Regions from separate parts of the Homo sapiens genome. Here regions 1, 2, 4 and 5 are each linked to region 3. The links are contacts of gene promoters, found by promoter capture Hi-C in blood cells and fetal thymus (Javierre and others, 2016). All regions are on one chromosome and are shown on one strand. Each heading gives the region's core, a stretch centred on a gene start or on the middle of the fragment in contact. The rest is flanking DNA. Distances are from core to core; before and after follow the strand shown. Region 1 overlaps RASSF4 (Ras association domain family member 4). Region 2 holds the start of ZNF22 (zinc finger protein 22). Region 3 holds the start of MAPK8 (mitogen-activated protein kinase 8). Region 4 holds the start of ZNF32-AS2 (ZNF32 antisense RNA 2). Region 5 overlaps PRKG1 (protein kinase cGMP-dependent 1).

Region 1 (2,700 bases), core at 132-2,631, 3.3 Mb before region 3:
GACTCCAAAGCTATGCTTTGCACTCACAGAGGAGCCCCTCGCTGGCTTTGCTGTAGTTTAACTGCCCACAGTACTAAGGTGTCAATCAGGATTTGTTGCCAGAAACCATTTTTTTTTAAGTTAGAAGTGAATTGGTGAAGTAACAGGTAAATGTAGACCATCCTGCCTTCTGTTCCTCTGTGTGGTTCCTTAGCTACTTCTGCCAGGACAGCAGGTTAGGGGAGAAGACAGGAAGGGAGAGGGTCAGAGGAGAAAGAGGAAGGGAGGGAAGAGGAGAGATGAAACTCATTAAACTTAGGTTAAAAAAATGCTGGCCGGAAATTGTCATGGGCTGTTTCAGCACTTTGTCAGTGTATGTGAAGGCTGTTGTCATTAGTTCTAGCCATAATTCTCTCAGTGTGTAGTGCTGGTGATTTGACAACAAAAAGGTTGATGCTACAGATTAAAGTGTCTGTCTGAAACTCAGGAGATTGGGTTGTATTTCCACCATGAAGCTCCAGTGGGTAGCCTGGAGGTCGAGAACAGAATCAAGGTCCAGGGTCGCCCTGGGTCAGGACCAAGTGGACCATGACAGATAACAAAGAACATGAACGAAACTTGGGTGTGTGTCAGAGTTCAGATTCTGGACGTGCAAAGCCTCAAAGGGGAGACCTAACTAGGGGATCTGCCAGAAAGCCCTCTGCCCTGGGCCCCTGGGGTCTGGGGCCTGGTTTCAGGTGTCAGCTCAGACTCTCTCCTCATTCATGGCCACTCCTGCAGGCAGGCCTCACATTCCCATCTCTGGGGCTCCACAGTCTCTCCAGAGCCCCCAACTCCCAGTGTCAATAAGAATAGTAATGGGAGCCTCTTTTCATTATGGGTGAGCCCAACACAAGGCCCATCTTACAGGTCTCCTCATTCGTCTTCACAGAAGTCATCGAGGATTATAGTTATTTAATTGATGAGGAGCCCAAGGTTCAGAGAGGGAACTGGACTTGCTTAAGGTAACAGAGCCAGGCAGTCACAGAGCAGAGCTTTAAACCCAGAGCCTTGCAAAGGCTAGGTGGTTATTCTCTCACAGAGTATGTTTGGGGAAATTGTTTTAAAATAAAGAAAATCAAATAAGAAGTGGCTGCACTTCCTAAAGCTTCAACAGTTTTCTTATTTTTGTAAAAGAGAAACTTGTAGTTCCCGGGGTCTCCTTTTCTGGCTGTCCCACCTTCTGCCCTAGGATATACTGTTGAGGAAGAGGCCCGGAACCCCCTCCCTTTGCCCTGCCTGACCTTGGGAAGCAGGGGTGGGGTGTCATTGAGCCCCATAGCTGCAGTGCTGGGAAGAGCCCTGAAGACTCTCTATCAGCTGCCACAACAGCTCTGGCTAAACTGATGCCCAAGAGACGGCGCAACACGCTAGGATCACAGGCCAAGTTAATGCCACAGCAAAACTCACATGCAAGGCTCTACAACGTTCCTCTGCCTCCTCTTTCTTGCTGTGACAGGTTTCAGCAGAGATTCTAAACCTAAGATCTGGGGATCTGGGAGTACATGGACAAGAGCTGTCTCATCTCCCTGCAGTGATATGCAAATTGTGTGTGTGTTTGCACGTGGATGCAGATTGCAACAACATGCACATACATGCATTTTCTGGGGAGAGTGCACTAAGCTTTCAAGAGACTCCAAAGGACTCTATGACCCAAAAGATTCTGGGACCCTTTTGTCTCACAGGGCCCTTATGTCCCCAGCAGTGACATGTGGCACACAGGCCTGGGGCAGTGGACAGCACAGGTGAGGGCAGCCGTAGAGAGCCTCCAGAGCAGCCCTGCAGCAGCAGGCACCCAGAGGGGTCTGCCCCTCTGCATTGCACTCCCAGCCCCAGGCAATCGGGATATTGGACAGTGCCCATTTTGAGCACGTTTGGCCCGAAAACCATAGCTAAGAAGATCTTTGTTTCTGTGGATCTTCTCTTCCATAGGCTAGAGGTGAGCCTGGTTGGTGGGGAAGTTGAGGAGTGGTTCAGGGGGTTCCAGGAGCAGAGAATGTATGTTTAAGGTGTAAGGGGGGAGCAGGAGGACTGGAAATGGTTTTCTTGTCCCAAATTGCTTTGCCTTGAAACAAGGGCAGAAGCCAGAAGTCTTGCCCACTGGGAAGGCTGGTCTGCGATCTACATGGCTGCTCAGGGCCAGGCTCTCAGAGGAAGGGGAGCTGTATCAGGGAGGCCTGGATGCTGGACTGGACTCAGAGAGACCTGTCAGTGAGAGGCCAGAACCGCAGCGGGGAGTAAAGGTGAGCTGGGCCTGTGTGGTCAGTCCAGGGCAAGGCGGGAGTGGAGGTGGAGGGGAGCTCTGTGCCCGCCTCTCCTGGACTCCCCTGGTCTCCATCACCTCCACCTGGACAGTGCAGAGTCTTCTGGGGCAGGGAGGAGTGAGTTGAGCCAGAGGGATGATGGCGGGAGTGGAGAGGAGGGGTCTGGTGATTGGAACTGGGCAGCAGGAGGGGACAGCAGTGTGGAAGGAGGTGGGAGCAGCAGCTGCTGAGTCGCCGCCTGCCATCTACAACCAGACAGCCGGCTCTCACCACAAAAATGCTTGGCTGAGGGTACCCCCTCAGAGGCACCTGGTTTCGGCAGACGCTGCAACTTCTTCACTGGCCAGGCTCCTGCCATTTGCTGGCGAACAGGTGCTGGGAGGGGCCTTTTAAAGCTTCATTGTCCTCTGTGCCCTGC
Region 2 (2,700 bases), core at 17-2,516, 3.3 Mb before region 3:
ACAGCTATTTACTGAGTGTCTGTTCCCTGCTGAGCACTGTTTTCAGCACTGCAGACACAATAAAGAACTAAAGAGACAGATCATGAGAGGCATCGGGTGCCACTGCGAGGTCCTTGGCTTTGCTCTAATAAGTTGGGAAGCCTTTGAAGGTTTTGAACAAATGAATGACATGATCTAACTTAGGTTTAAGAGGATTACTCTGGGGCCGTGAATAGACTGTAGGGCAACCCGTCTGGAAGCCAATATAATAATCCAGAAGGTGGATGAAGGTGGCTTGGTGGTTATAGCAGTGGAAGTGTTGAAAGTGGCTTGATAATGAATATATTTTAACGATGAAGCCGACAGAATTTGTGGATAAATCACAGGTGAATTTTGGATGAAAAAAAGAAGAGACAACAGTGACATCAAGGTTTTTGGCTTGAGCAACTGGAAAGATGATGGGATCTTCACCCATCCCTGGGAAGAAGACTGTTGCAAGAACAGGTTAGGTAGATATCAGGAATTCATTTGGGGGGTATGTTAGGTTTGGGATGTCCATTACACATGCAAATGCAGCTCTTGAGTAATCAGTTCGATATACAAGTCTAAAGTTCAATAACATTTATGTCCCACAGTCAGACTGGAGTTACCAATGCGGGAGTCTTCAGCATGCAGCAATAGCATTGGAAGCCAAAAGGCGGAGGAGCTCCCCAGGGAGTGGGGGAACACGGAGGTCAGCTGGTCAGATGACTGAGCACGGCCAGGATGGCTGAGGAGGAGCCTGGAAGGAATAAGAACAAAGAGAGATCATTACTAATGAGCAACAAAAGGGGTGTGTTGAAATCAGACTTTGGAGCCACAAAGAACCATTCCAATTCTGGGTCGTCCGCTTACACACGGTGAACGGAGCACATTTCTTCTCTGAGCCTTGGTTCCTTTCCTGTAAATGGAGTATAACCACTCCCATCTTGCAGGAGCTTTTTGGTGATAATTAAGGTGACTTCGTGAAAAGTACCAGGGTCTCAAAAATCTCAAAATTTGTGGAAAGTATGCAGTTTCTAGGTTGGAGAGGCTAGAGTTTGGTTTCAAAAGCCTCGACCACACACAGGGGCGGTTACAGCTCTTGAGGTCCCGGGGGTCACAGGACGCCTTCCGAGTTGGGGGGAGGAGAAAACAAAACCACAGGAAGAAACGAACAACGCTTTCGGGTGGGCCCGGGACCATAGAGGGTCGCTCCGCCACTTTCCTAGAGCGACCGCGGCGGCGCCAGAGCGCGGCGAGGCCCTCACTTCCGGCGGCGCGGGAGGCGCCCAGCGAGCCAGAGTGGTGGCTGGTCCCGCGCGGTGAGTGGGATTGGGGCACTTGGGGCGCTCGGGGCCTGCGTCGGATACTCGGGTCCGCTCGGGAGCGCGCTGGCCGCAACGAGGGCGGCGCGGGCCCGGGCGATGGCGTGGCTTGCGTCTCCCGCCTCCGGGCAGGGCCTGGCCGCCGGGCGGGGGCGGGAGGGCCACGCGGGCCCAGGGTGGGGCCGCGGCCTGCGCGGCGGGCGGGCCGGGTCAATGAGGAGCGGCCGGCGGAGTGCTGGGAACGGGAGGCTTGGACTGGGGGCCCGGGCGAGGCGCGGCCCGCGGCGGGTGGAACTGGGCGGGTGAGCAGCAGCCCCGGCCCCTTCCGTCGCTCGGAGCGTTCGAGGACTAGATACGTGGAACAAATGCTTAGGCAGCACAGGGCTGCTCTGAGCGGTTTTCAGATTCAGACTCATTGCAACTTCTAACATCTTGATGGTGTTGCCACTTTATCATTACCCTCCCCATTTTACGAGGAAACTGAGGCACATTCCAGTTAGCTGGGTGTGCAAGAACAGCAGCTTCTGTCACTCAGGTTTAACTTCGTGCTTGCCCCTGCTGGGGAGCTATGCAAAGCACGGGTCGCCGCGCTGGACTGAGCAATGGAAGATGTGGCTGCCACTAAGAGTACAGGCTCTGGAGTCAAACTGCTAGGGTCTGGGAACCCGGCCAGTGCCTTCTAGCATTGTGCCCTCGTTTCCTTAACTTAAAACGGAAATAACTGCATAAAGGTGCCAGGAGAATTAAAGAGCTAGCACAGAATCAAGTTACACAGTGTCTGGCACATACTAGTATGATTGCCTCATCCGTAGGTGGATTTGACAGTCTGAGTTTCTGACTAGATCTGACTTCCATTGTATTAAATGCGTGTGCTTTTATGTATAATGACCATTATAGTTATTAAAAAAAAAAAAAAGCAACACCAACACCATGTACCTAACACAATGTCTCCTGTGTGGTAGATGTTCTGTAAATATTTGCTTAAGTTAAGGAGTGGGTAGTCCTAACTGTAATCTTGTGTTATATGCGGCTTACTCTTACGCTGACCATAATTACAGCTGATGTAATTATTAAATATCCAGATAAAGTCCTGGACCTAAAGTCTCAATTATACAATAAGATGAAAGGAAGGCAAGAAAAATTATGTTTTTGTTTTCATTTATTTGCTTTATATGTTTGTATGCAAAGAAACCCAGAATAATTGTTTCTATTTTAAATTCCACATTCTGACACAAGATAATGAAAAATAGTTCCAATAATTTTATTGCTTTTGAAGTTCTAGATTTTCCGACATTGCCACCTATGTGGGGTTTGTAGGGGTTTTTGTTGGTTTGTTTTGGCCGTTATTTTAAATAGCCACAAGTCAGCCTTATAA
Region 3 (2,700 bases), core at 64-2,563:
TTATTACTTTCATAGTACAGTGATTAAATCTGTAAACTCTACTGTATTGCCTGGCACTGAATGGGCATGCAATAAATAATTATTGCAGGAACAAAGGATGGCAGGAAGGAAATTAAGAAGGTTGAGAGGGAGGGAGAGAGGAAATGGGAAGAGAATGAATGAATAATCATCTGTATGTTCCCTTTCAGAATCACCAGAAACAGGCCAGCCCCACATGTAATAGGAAAGTAGTTTACCTGAAATCATTCATTTATTCAACAAATATTTATATATTCATTATTAAAGTAACTTACTTGTTTCTGATTGTGAACATAACTATTCCTCTCGGAAAACATGAGAAAATACCCAAAGTATAAACGAGAACCAAGTCACCCTTTATTCCATAGTCCAATGATGAACCATTGTTAACATAATTTGGTGTATTTCTTTCCAGGTTTTTTCTATGTGTATATATAGTATCTAAGTGGGACCATTCTATATATGACTTGTTTCTTGCTTCTTTCTCTTAATGATACATTGTGAACATGTTCCTATGTTGTTAAGAATTCCTTGAACACATGGCATTTAAATTGCTAAAATGTATTCTACCGAATGGTGTAGGTAGTTCAAACGCCTTTCCACCCGTTGTTGGATATTTAAAGGACTTGTCAATTTATCGCTTCTGTAACATTTACACGCTTTGTGGGGCCTCAGAAGTAAACCAGGTAATGCAAGGAATCTGGGAAGAGGTGGATTTGCAAGGAATCTCGGAGGAGGTGGATTTTGGAAAAACTGGAGGCAGCTTTTCCCGGGCAGCTGAAGAGAACACTTATCTCTCTGTAGGTTTCTGGGACCCGGACAGGTGTCCTCAGAATGGAACATATTGTCGGTCAAGGTAACCAGCTCTTCATCACTCAGGTGTGTGTACCGGAAGGGGGTGCCTGTTCGCTGCGCAGGTTAGGCCTAAGCGCACCTGCCCTTCAACCCTGTGCCGACGAGGCCCGAAGGCTTAAGCTCTGACCTGGCTACCGCCGCCAACCAGATGCGGTCCCCTGGGGCCACGCGCCGCCACGTGCCGCCACAGGGCCCGCCCCTCCCGCTCCAGGCCACGCCCCTCACCCACAGCCCTCGGAGGCTCTCTCCGCGGCTCCGCCTCCAAGCGACCTCCGCAAGTCCTCTCGTAACCCCTGGAGTAGCGCCGTCCCCGGGCGGCGGCCCCGCCCCCGCAATCCGGGCCCCGGGGCTGCCCCGCCCCGCCGGCCGCTCGGGAGGCGCGGGGGCGGGGCCCTGCGCGATGACGTGCGCGGGCGTGCGCGGTGACGGCCCGCGTCTCTGTTACTCAGCCGAGCGGCCGAGGCCGGACGACGCGGCTTGGATTGCGGAGCCGCGAGCAGCGCTGGGTAACGGCCGCGGCGACCACCCCGGACGGCCCCTGTCCCCGCTGGCGGGCTTCCCTGTCGCCGTTCGCTGCGCTGCCGGGTGAGTGCGGCGGACGCCGCAGGGCCGGGACGGCAGGCGGCCCCGTCGTGTTTATGTTATTGTGCCGCTGCCGCCGCCGCCGCCTTCTCCTCAGCCGTAACCCCCTCCTGGGAGTGGGGGCGGGAGCGCGCGGTGGGCGGGGGCGGCGCGGGAACAATAGCGGCGCGGAGGCGGGGGCCAGCCGAGGGGGCGTGGGGCTGCGGGACCTGGGTGCGCTCCGCTGCCCGCCAGCCCGCCTGCCGCCGCGAGCCCCGCCCGCCTGTCCTCTCGCGTCCTCTTCGCGTGGGTCCTGCCTCCGCGGCGGGAGAAGAAAATGGAGCGGGGGGGTGGGTGGCAAGTTCTGAAACACTTCGGCAAGGGTCGGACGGAGGTGTCTTTGCGGCCCGCCGCGCCCTGGCTGCCTCCGGGGCGGCGGGGAGCCGGGGAGAGCGCTTCTGCCGGCAGGTCCCCAAGCCTGCCCCGCGCCCATAGGGACCGTATTTTGCTTCTCGATGCTTTCTTTGTGCTAACGTTCTGGGCGAACGCAGGCAGCAGCGCTGAAAAGGGCCAGAGTGGCCTGCAGCTCTGGGCTGCAGGGCAGAGAGCCCAGGCCCGTGGCTCGGGTGGGAGGTGTCCATCCAGCTTGGCCCGAGCTTCGGTGGTCAGCGCGCATTTCTCTTGAGGGTCATCGGTGGTGACCTTTTGACTTTTTCACCCCACCCTCCCATCTCTTTGTCTCGCATTTGTGTTCCCGATTCAGAGATGGTAGAACCAAGTCCATTTTAAAGTACCCTGATGAACACTTTCCGTTTTTATTTCTGAAAGTTCCCTGCTTGGTCTTTACTGCGAATTTAATAACATGTTGACTACATGGCATTGTCCAGTGATTACTATTTTTACCTCTGAAATCCAGCGATCTTTCCAGTAGAATTCTGGTCCGTCAGTCCATTGTGTTTTGAGATAAGCATCCAGCAAGTACCTCCTTGGCAATTAGAACATCTGTTTTTTCATTCATTCATTCATTCAGCAGCTGTTTAGTACCGTACTCAGATGAAGAGGTTTGGTGTGAAGGTAAAGTATCCTTTCATGGAAGAGGATGCTTTGACTGAAGTATAATAGATGGACCTTTAAATGAGACAGTTACATAAGTGATGTCTGTTAAGGAAGGTATGGTTATATTCTGGGTCATTTTTTAAGCAGTATATCTGGAAGTTCAAGTGTAATAGGAAGTAGAATTAGATTTGGTCTAAATATACAACAGCT
Region 4 (2,700 bases), core at 178-2,677, 4.7 Mb before region 3:
ATTGCCTTTGGCCCTGAAGCTTTTTCCACAGTGGGTGCACTCAAAAGGCTTTTGACCAGTGTGGATTCTCTCATGTAACGTTAGACTACCTTTTTGCCGGAAGGATTTTCCACACTCCTGGCACTCATAGACCCTTTGTCTCACTCCAGGTGAATCTTCCTGTAGTGTCTTCGAATCTGGGGATTTTTGTTCCAGCTTCTCTCTTCTGAAAGAATTTTGGATATCCCAGCTTGAGGATCCTGTAGCCTCAGAGTGGTCATATTTGTGGTGGGCTTCAGTCATCACATCTGATAAAATGAGAGGGAAGTCATATAAGAAGCACCAATAATGCTGAGTTAGAATAGGGAAAAAGAAACATAATACTTTGAGTGCTTATGATGTGCCAGGCCTTATTCTTTGCATAGACAATGCAATCCTGAAAACAATGCCATGAGAGTGATACAGATAATGGGAGCAAAGGGAGCCTGTCAAAGGTCACAGAGCTAGGTAAGTTAGAGCTGACTCAAATAGGCATTCTCCATAGCAGTGTACTGCCTCTAAATTTAATTTAGGCCAACAAATAACCTTGTAAGATAGACATGGTTTTCTCTATTTTACAGGTCAGAAAACAGGCTCAGAAAATTTAGAAAACTATACAGAATCACACAGAGCCCCATACCCAACTTTTATCTGACTCCAAAACAGGTGTGGATCCAGGCTATATAAGGCCTAAAACTTTCCCATTTTAGAGGCACCCTTTTAAGAAAATGTATAAAATTAAGCACAGGGTCTTGGAGAGACCAATCCAAGTGAGGGGTCCTAAAACTGAAGCTGCATTTGCTTCTTCAGAAATCCACCTCTGTCCAATCTGTTCTGACAATAGAATAAGCACCATGACCTCAGAAAATATGTAGCACAATCCTGGGTACTTTACATCTATCATTGCTAATCCCTGCAACCCTACAAGATAGAACTTATTGTCCTATTTTACAGACGAACCTGGAGCTTAAGGAAGTTAAATAACCTGTCTGATACTGCAGATCTAGCCATGGCAATTATAGAATCTGATCCAAGGAATTTTTCCCATTAAAATCCTTGCTATTTTCAGTCTACTAAGCTATGGCAAAACTGAAATCAATTTTGGTTTGGAAGTTATTCTCTATGCAGATATTGACTTTTTTTTTTCCGAATACTGCCCTGCATCTGAGCCTCCTGGTGCACTTTAAATATGGGTCCATTCATCACCATTAACAGTTTTCTTGGTGTCTGTCACTCCAGGGTAATCTTCTCCTTGTTCCCTTGCCTTATTCAGAGACAGTGCTGAGATTTAAGCTGCTCATTCATTCTCAGAGACTACTTCAACGCTACCTCCATATCAAGATGGTTCTCTTGCTCTGTTTCTACTATTACTTCTAACTCCAGCTCACAGGCTTTTCTTATAACCCTAGGAACAGCAAGCTCTACCAAAGCAAGGTCTCCTCTGCTTCCTCAGACTGCCGACCAGTGCTGAGAACAGGGACACTGAATATCTGTGAGCTGAGCGCATCCAGCCATCAACTGACTCACTCACTGAAGAACGCTACATTCTGGGCATATCTTCCATGACAGTCCAGCAGGGTAGCTGTTGGAAATCCAAACATGTCCACTCCTGCTTACGACCTCAGTCACCACCTCTTCATATGATTCTTCCATGGGCTGTTCCTGAGCACCTGAGGGAGAAAAACAAACAGAAACAAACAGGAAAGGGCAGAATAATTGATATGTGAGAAGGAAAAAGTCAACAGTTGTTGAGACATAAGTGAATGTAAGAAACCTAGATTGTTTGACATAATGTCAGTTACTAAAATATCACTGCAAAATGGGCCCAAAGGTACCAGGACCACACACAAATGAGTCTAGGAGGAAGCAGGATGTGGGAAAGCAGAGAACACATAAACATATATCTCTTCCTGCCAATCCCAAGTTAATAGTCACTCCTGTTTACACTTTGGTCTTGGCATGTAATTGGGATCTTCCATTTTGGTTCCCCACCTAACCACCTACTACTTTCTTCCCTCCAAGCCCCAGAGGAATTCAGAATCTAAGAAAACAACATTTCAGCCTTCATGATTGGTTGGAGCCAATCAGCTCTCCAGTTATCTGTAGTTACAAAGACTTAACAAGAGAGTCCATTTGTTACCACTGAACAATTCTTAGGAGGCTCCAGACCCAGACTCGCCTTTCTCTTGCTCTTGAAGATACAAGAATACCAGTTCTGACCAAGTGTAAACACTTGTCAATTCTTGGAAAAGAAAGACCTACTCTGGACTCCAAGCCCAAGGCACTCCAACTAGGTTAAGTAACTTGCCCAGAAACCCACAGAAAATAAGGAGTCAAAGTGGAGCAAAGGTTCAAATCCAAGACTTTCTGGATCCAAAATGTATGCTCTTACATTAGACAGTTGTCTAGTTCCTAATCACTAAAGAGCTGGTCAGAATGCTTATAAAATTGAACAGAAAGGAAGAGAGTTTGACCAGATTGAAGTGCTCTTTCAGATCCTAGGAATCCTCTTGTATGTGCTCTAAATTATTTTTTAATTTTTTTAAAATTCTGAGTCAAGATTTTGCTCTGTTGCCCAGGCTGGAGTACAGTGACTCAATTACAGCTTGCTGTGACTTTGAACTCCTGGACTCAACGGATCCTCCCACTTCAGCCTCCCAAATAACTAGGACTACAGGTAAG
Region 5 (2,700 bases), core at 41-2,540, 3.4 Mb after region 3:
TTTTTTTTTTGACACAGGATTTCACTCCTGTCAGCCAGGCTGGAGTGCGATGGCGTGATCTTGGTTCACTGCAACCTCTGCCTCCTGAGCTCAAGCAATTCTCCTGCCTTAGCCTCCCGAGTAAAGACTACAGGCGTGTGCCACTACTCATGGCTAATTTTTTGTGCGTTTTGTAGAGACGGGGTTTCACCGTGTTGGCCAGGCTGGTCTTGAACTCCTGAGCTCAAGCGATCTGCTTGCCTCAGTCTCCCAAAGAGTTGGCATTACAGGCATGAGCCATTGCACCTGGCCTCAGACTGATTTTTGAACTTCTACCCTGAAATTGCTTTGGGCCTTCATTTATAAGTCATACTAGAAAATCGGTACATTAACTGAAAAGTATACTTTATTTTTAACAAAGAACAGGATTATGCAACAAAATCACCCAACTTCCTGACCAGATTTGGCAAAAATATCATGCTTAGCTAATTCCAAATATCAAACCTTACATCAGAATACAAAAATTCTATACACTTTGAAGGAATTTTTTAAAAAAAGATTCACTATAGAGTGTAAGGAAAAAAGAAAAGATTCACTATTGATTCAGTAGACAAATTCCAAAGACAAGAACTACAAATATTTTGAGTAATGACAGTCATTTTTGAAATAAGTGTACGGGTCCTTCAAGGAATAGCTCAAATAAACTACTCCACAAAGCTTTCTATGACCTTTCTACCCTTTCCCCTAGGTTAGAAGTAATTTTGTTTTTCTTTGGATATAAACCTTGATATACCTTGTACCTTTCTGATTATAGTAACTCCTTTACCTTTCAGCAAAATTGTGATTTTCCTTCTAAACTGTAAAATCATTATATATCCCCCTTTATCAGTTAACTAAGTGCCTCAAATTTATTATTTCATTCCATCAATATTTATTTCAAGCACTGACAATACAGCAGTGAAAACAATAGTCTGCCAGAAAAGAAGGTCTGTAAATGTGGTCCTTGGTTCAGTGGCATCAGCATCACCAGGAAACATCTTAGAAATTAAAAGTTTGGGGCCCTACTCCAAATCTATTGCATCAGAAACAGAGAAATCTTTGAACAAGTTTTCCAGGTAATTCTAATGCAAGCTCAATTTTGAGAACCACTACATTATAAGATTGCAATCATAGTTGCCAGGCACAGTGACTCACGCCTGTAATCCTGGCACTTTGGAAGGCGGAGGTGGGTGGATCATTTGGTCAGGAGTTCAAGACCAGCCCGGCCAACATGGTGAAATGGTGAAACCCCGTGTCTACTAAAAATACAAAAATTAACCAGGTGTGGTGGTGCATGCTTCTAATCTCAGCTATTTGGAGGCCAAGGTTTGAGGATTGCTTGAACCCGGGATGTGGATGTTGCAGTGAGCTGAGATCGCACCACTGCACTCCAGCCTGGGCAACAGAGTGAAACTGTCTCAAAAAAAAAAAAAAAAATTAAATAAATAAATAAATAAAATTAAATTAAATAAAAAGAATGCAATTATAGTATAGTAGCTGATAGATGATAGATAGACAGACAGACAGACAGATAGATAGATAGATAGATAGATATTTTGTTTTCACCTCTGTATCCTCAGCACCTGGGATAGAGCTCAGCACAGGTGGATGTTCATTATATATTTGTTGAATGAATGACAGGAAATGACTTTAAAGTTTGCTAATTCACAAATATTTCATTTTACCAAGGACGGAGCCTGTGGCATTGAATAACGTGCCTCAAATCAAAGACAAGACATGCTGCCAGGACCCTTGTCATTTTATTCCTAGGTCAGTGATAGTTCTTCCATGTTGCCATTTGATGAAATGGATATGCAATAAAGTATGTAGAGATGGAAGAGAGTGATATGTTTTAGATTATCAAGGAAAGCTTTCTGATGGAAATGAGATTTAGGGAAGGGTTATAATCTGGCATAGATAGGTAGAAGATGAAGAAAATAAACCAGAAGCTAGTAATAGCCAACGCAAGAAATTGGGACCTGGTGTTTTTTACGGCCTCAGAGGAAACCAAGAGAGTTGGTGAGGAGTGTGACAAAAGATGGGCTTCTGGGACAGATTATAAAAGGTTTTGAAGTTCAGATTCATGAATGTGAACTTGATGTGAGAGTCAGTAGGCTTCCTTCACCACCCCCTGAAACATGAACATAGAATAATAATGGCAGAGGCTTAAGAATACCAAACTTATCTAATCCTTTTCTATATATTTTCTACCTAGGCTGTTCTTTTTTAATACCTTATAACTTTTAATCTAAATTGTGGTGGTTGTTCTTCCTACATATAACACACTCTGTTACGTAGCTTCATTCTCATTACTTCTCTCCATCCCTTCACATATTCTCCTCTGGCTAAATTGTACCACTCACTTTTTATCATACATGATCTGTATTTTTTCACCTCCTAGCTTTTTGTGATACTATTTGTCAGGGATGCTTCCTTTTTTCCTCTTCTTCTCTTCCCTCCCCCATGTTTAAATCTTTCTGTTCTTCAATGCTCACCTCAAAGACTTCCATTTAGAGTACTGGTTTGGTACTCATTATCTTCTATATTAGAGGTATCAATATTCTTGTATTACCATAAAATCCATATCTGATTGATATTCTCCACAATGCCTGGTCCAGTGCCTTTTATATTCCAAGCACTTAGTAAATATTTTTAAATTAATACAAGATCATCTTACAATAA

The links. The method cuts DNA at HindIII sites, captures the fragments that hold promoters and counts their contacts. A CHiCAGO score of 5 or more calls a contact.
Region 1: a fragment that was not itself captured here is called in contact with the fragment with the promoter of MAPK8 in region 3 in 4 of 17 cell types (activated CD4 T cells, naive CD8 T cells, total CD4 T cells and 1 more); the score reaches 9.1 in activated CD4 T cells.
Region 2: a contact is called between the fragment with the promoter of ZNF22 here and the fragment with the promoter of MAPK8 in region 3, in 6 of 17 cell types (activated CD4 T cells, non-activated CD4 T cells, total CD4 T cells and 3 more). The highest score is 17.6, in activated CD4 T cells.
Region 4: a contact is called between the fragment with the promoter of ZNF32-AS2 here and the fragment with the promoter of MAPK8 in region 3, in 4 of 17 cell types (total CD4 T cells, non-activated CD4 T cells, total CD8 T cells and 1 more). The highest score is 15.3, in total CD4 T cells.
Region 5: a fragment that was not itself captured here is called in contact with the fragment with the promoter of MAPK8 in region 3 in 1 of 17 cell types (naive CD8 T cells); the score reaches 5.7 in naive CD8 T cells.

The regions. Positions count from the first base shown.
Region 1 is chr10:44,960,788-44,963,487 of GRCh38, forward strand. All of the region lies in intron 1 of RASSF4 (Ras association domain family member 4), which reads left to right. Among named protein-coding and RNA genes, the nearest start is that of RASSF4, 2.3 kb to the left of the region's middle. The HindIII fragment of the contact is 515 bases long and covers 1,125-1,639 here.
Region 2 is chr10:44,999,657-45,002,356 of GRCh38, forward strand. It overlaps ZNF22 (zinc finger protein 22), which reads left to right and starts at 1,267. Exons shown (of 2, transcript NM_006963.5): 1 at 1,267-1,322. It overlaps LOC124902530, which reads left to right. Exons shown (of 3, transcript XM_047426129.1): 3 at 1,124-2,700. The coding sequence ends at 1,753. ZNF22-AS1 (ZNF22 antisense RNA 1) reads right to left here and starts at 1,147. Exons shown (of 4, transcript NR_126421.2): 1 at 874-1,147; 2 at 630-760. RefSeq lists a silencer at 1,307-1,656 and an enhancer at 1,383-1,883. The HindIII fragment of the contact is 6,687 bases long and covers 1-2,700 here.
Region 3 is chr10:48,305,364-48,308,063 of GRCh38, forward strand. MAPK8 (mitogen-activated protein kinase 8) reads left to right here and starts at 1,314. Exons shown (of 12, transcript NM_001323329.2): 1 at 1,314-1,458. RefSeq lists a silencer at 945-1,894. The HindIII fragment of the contact is 3,503 bases long and covers 1-2,700 here.
Region 4 is chr10:43,644,515-43,647,214 of GRCh38, forward strand. ZNF32-AS2 (ZNF32 antisense RNA 2) reads left to right here and starts at 1,428. Exons shown (of 3, transcript NR_047558.1): 1 at 1,428-1,783; 2 at 2,598-2,695. It overlaps ZNF32 (zinc finger protein 32), which reads right to left. Exons shown (of 3, transcript NM_006973.3): 2 at 1,550-1,688; 3 at 1-287. The coding sequence starts at 1,619. The region is part of intron 1 of ZNF32-AS3 (ZNF32 antisense RNA 3); the gene reads left to right. ZNF32-AS1 (ZNF32 antisense RNA 1) reads left to right here. Exons shown (of 2, transcript NR_047557.1): 2 at 336-533. RefSeq lists an enhancer at 1,122-2,321. The HindIII fragment of the contact is 3,514 bases long and covers 18-2,700 here.
Region 5 is chr10:51,702,704-51,705,403 of GRCh38, forward strand. All of the region lies in intron 3 of PRKG1 (protein kinase cGMP-dependent 1), which reads left to right. Among named protein-coding and RNA genes, the nearest start is that of CSTF2T, 4.5 kb to the left of the region's middle. The HindIII fragment of the contact is 1,192 bases long and covers 695-1,886 here.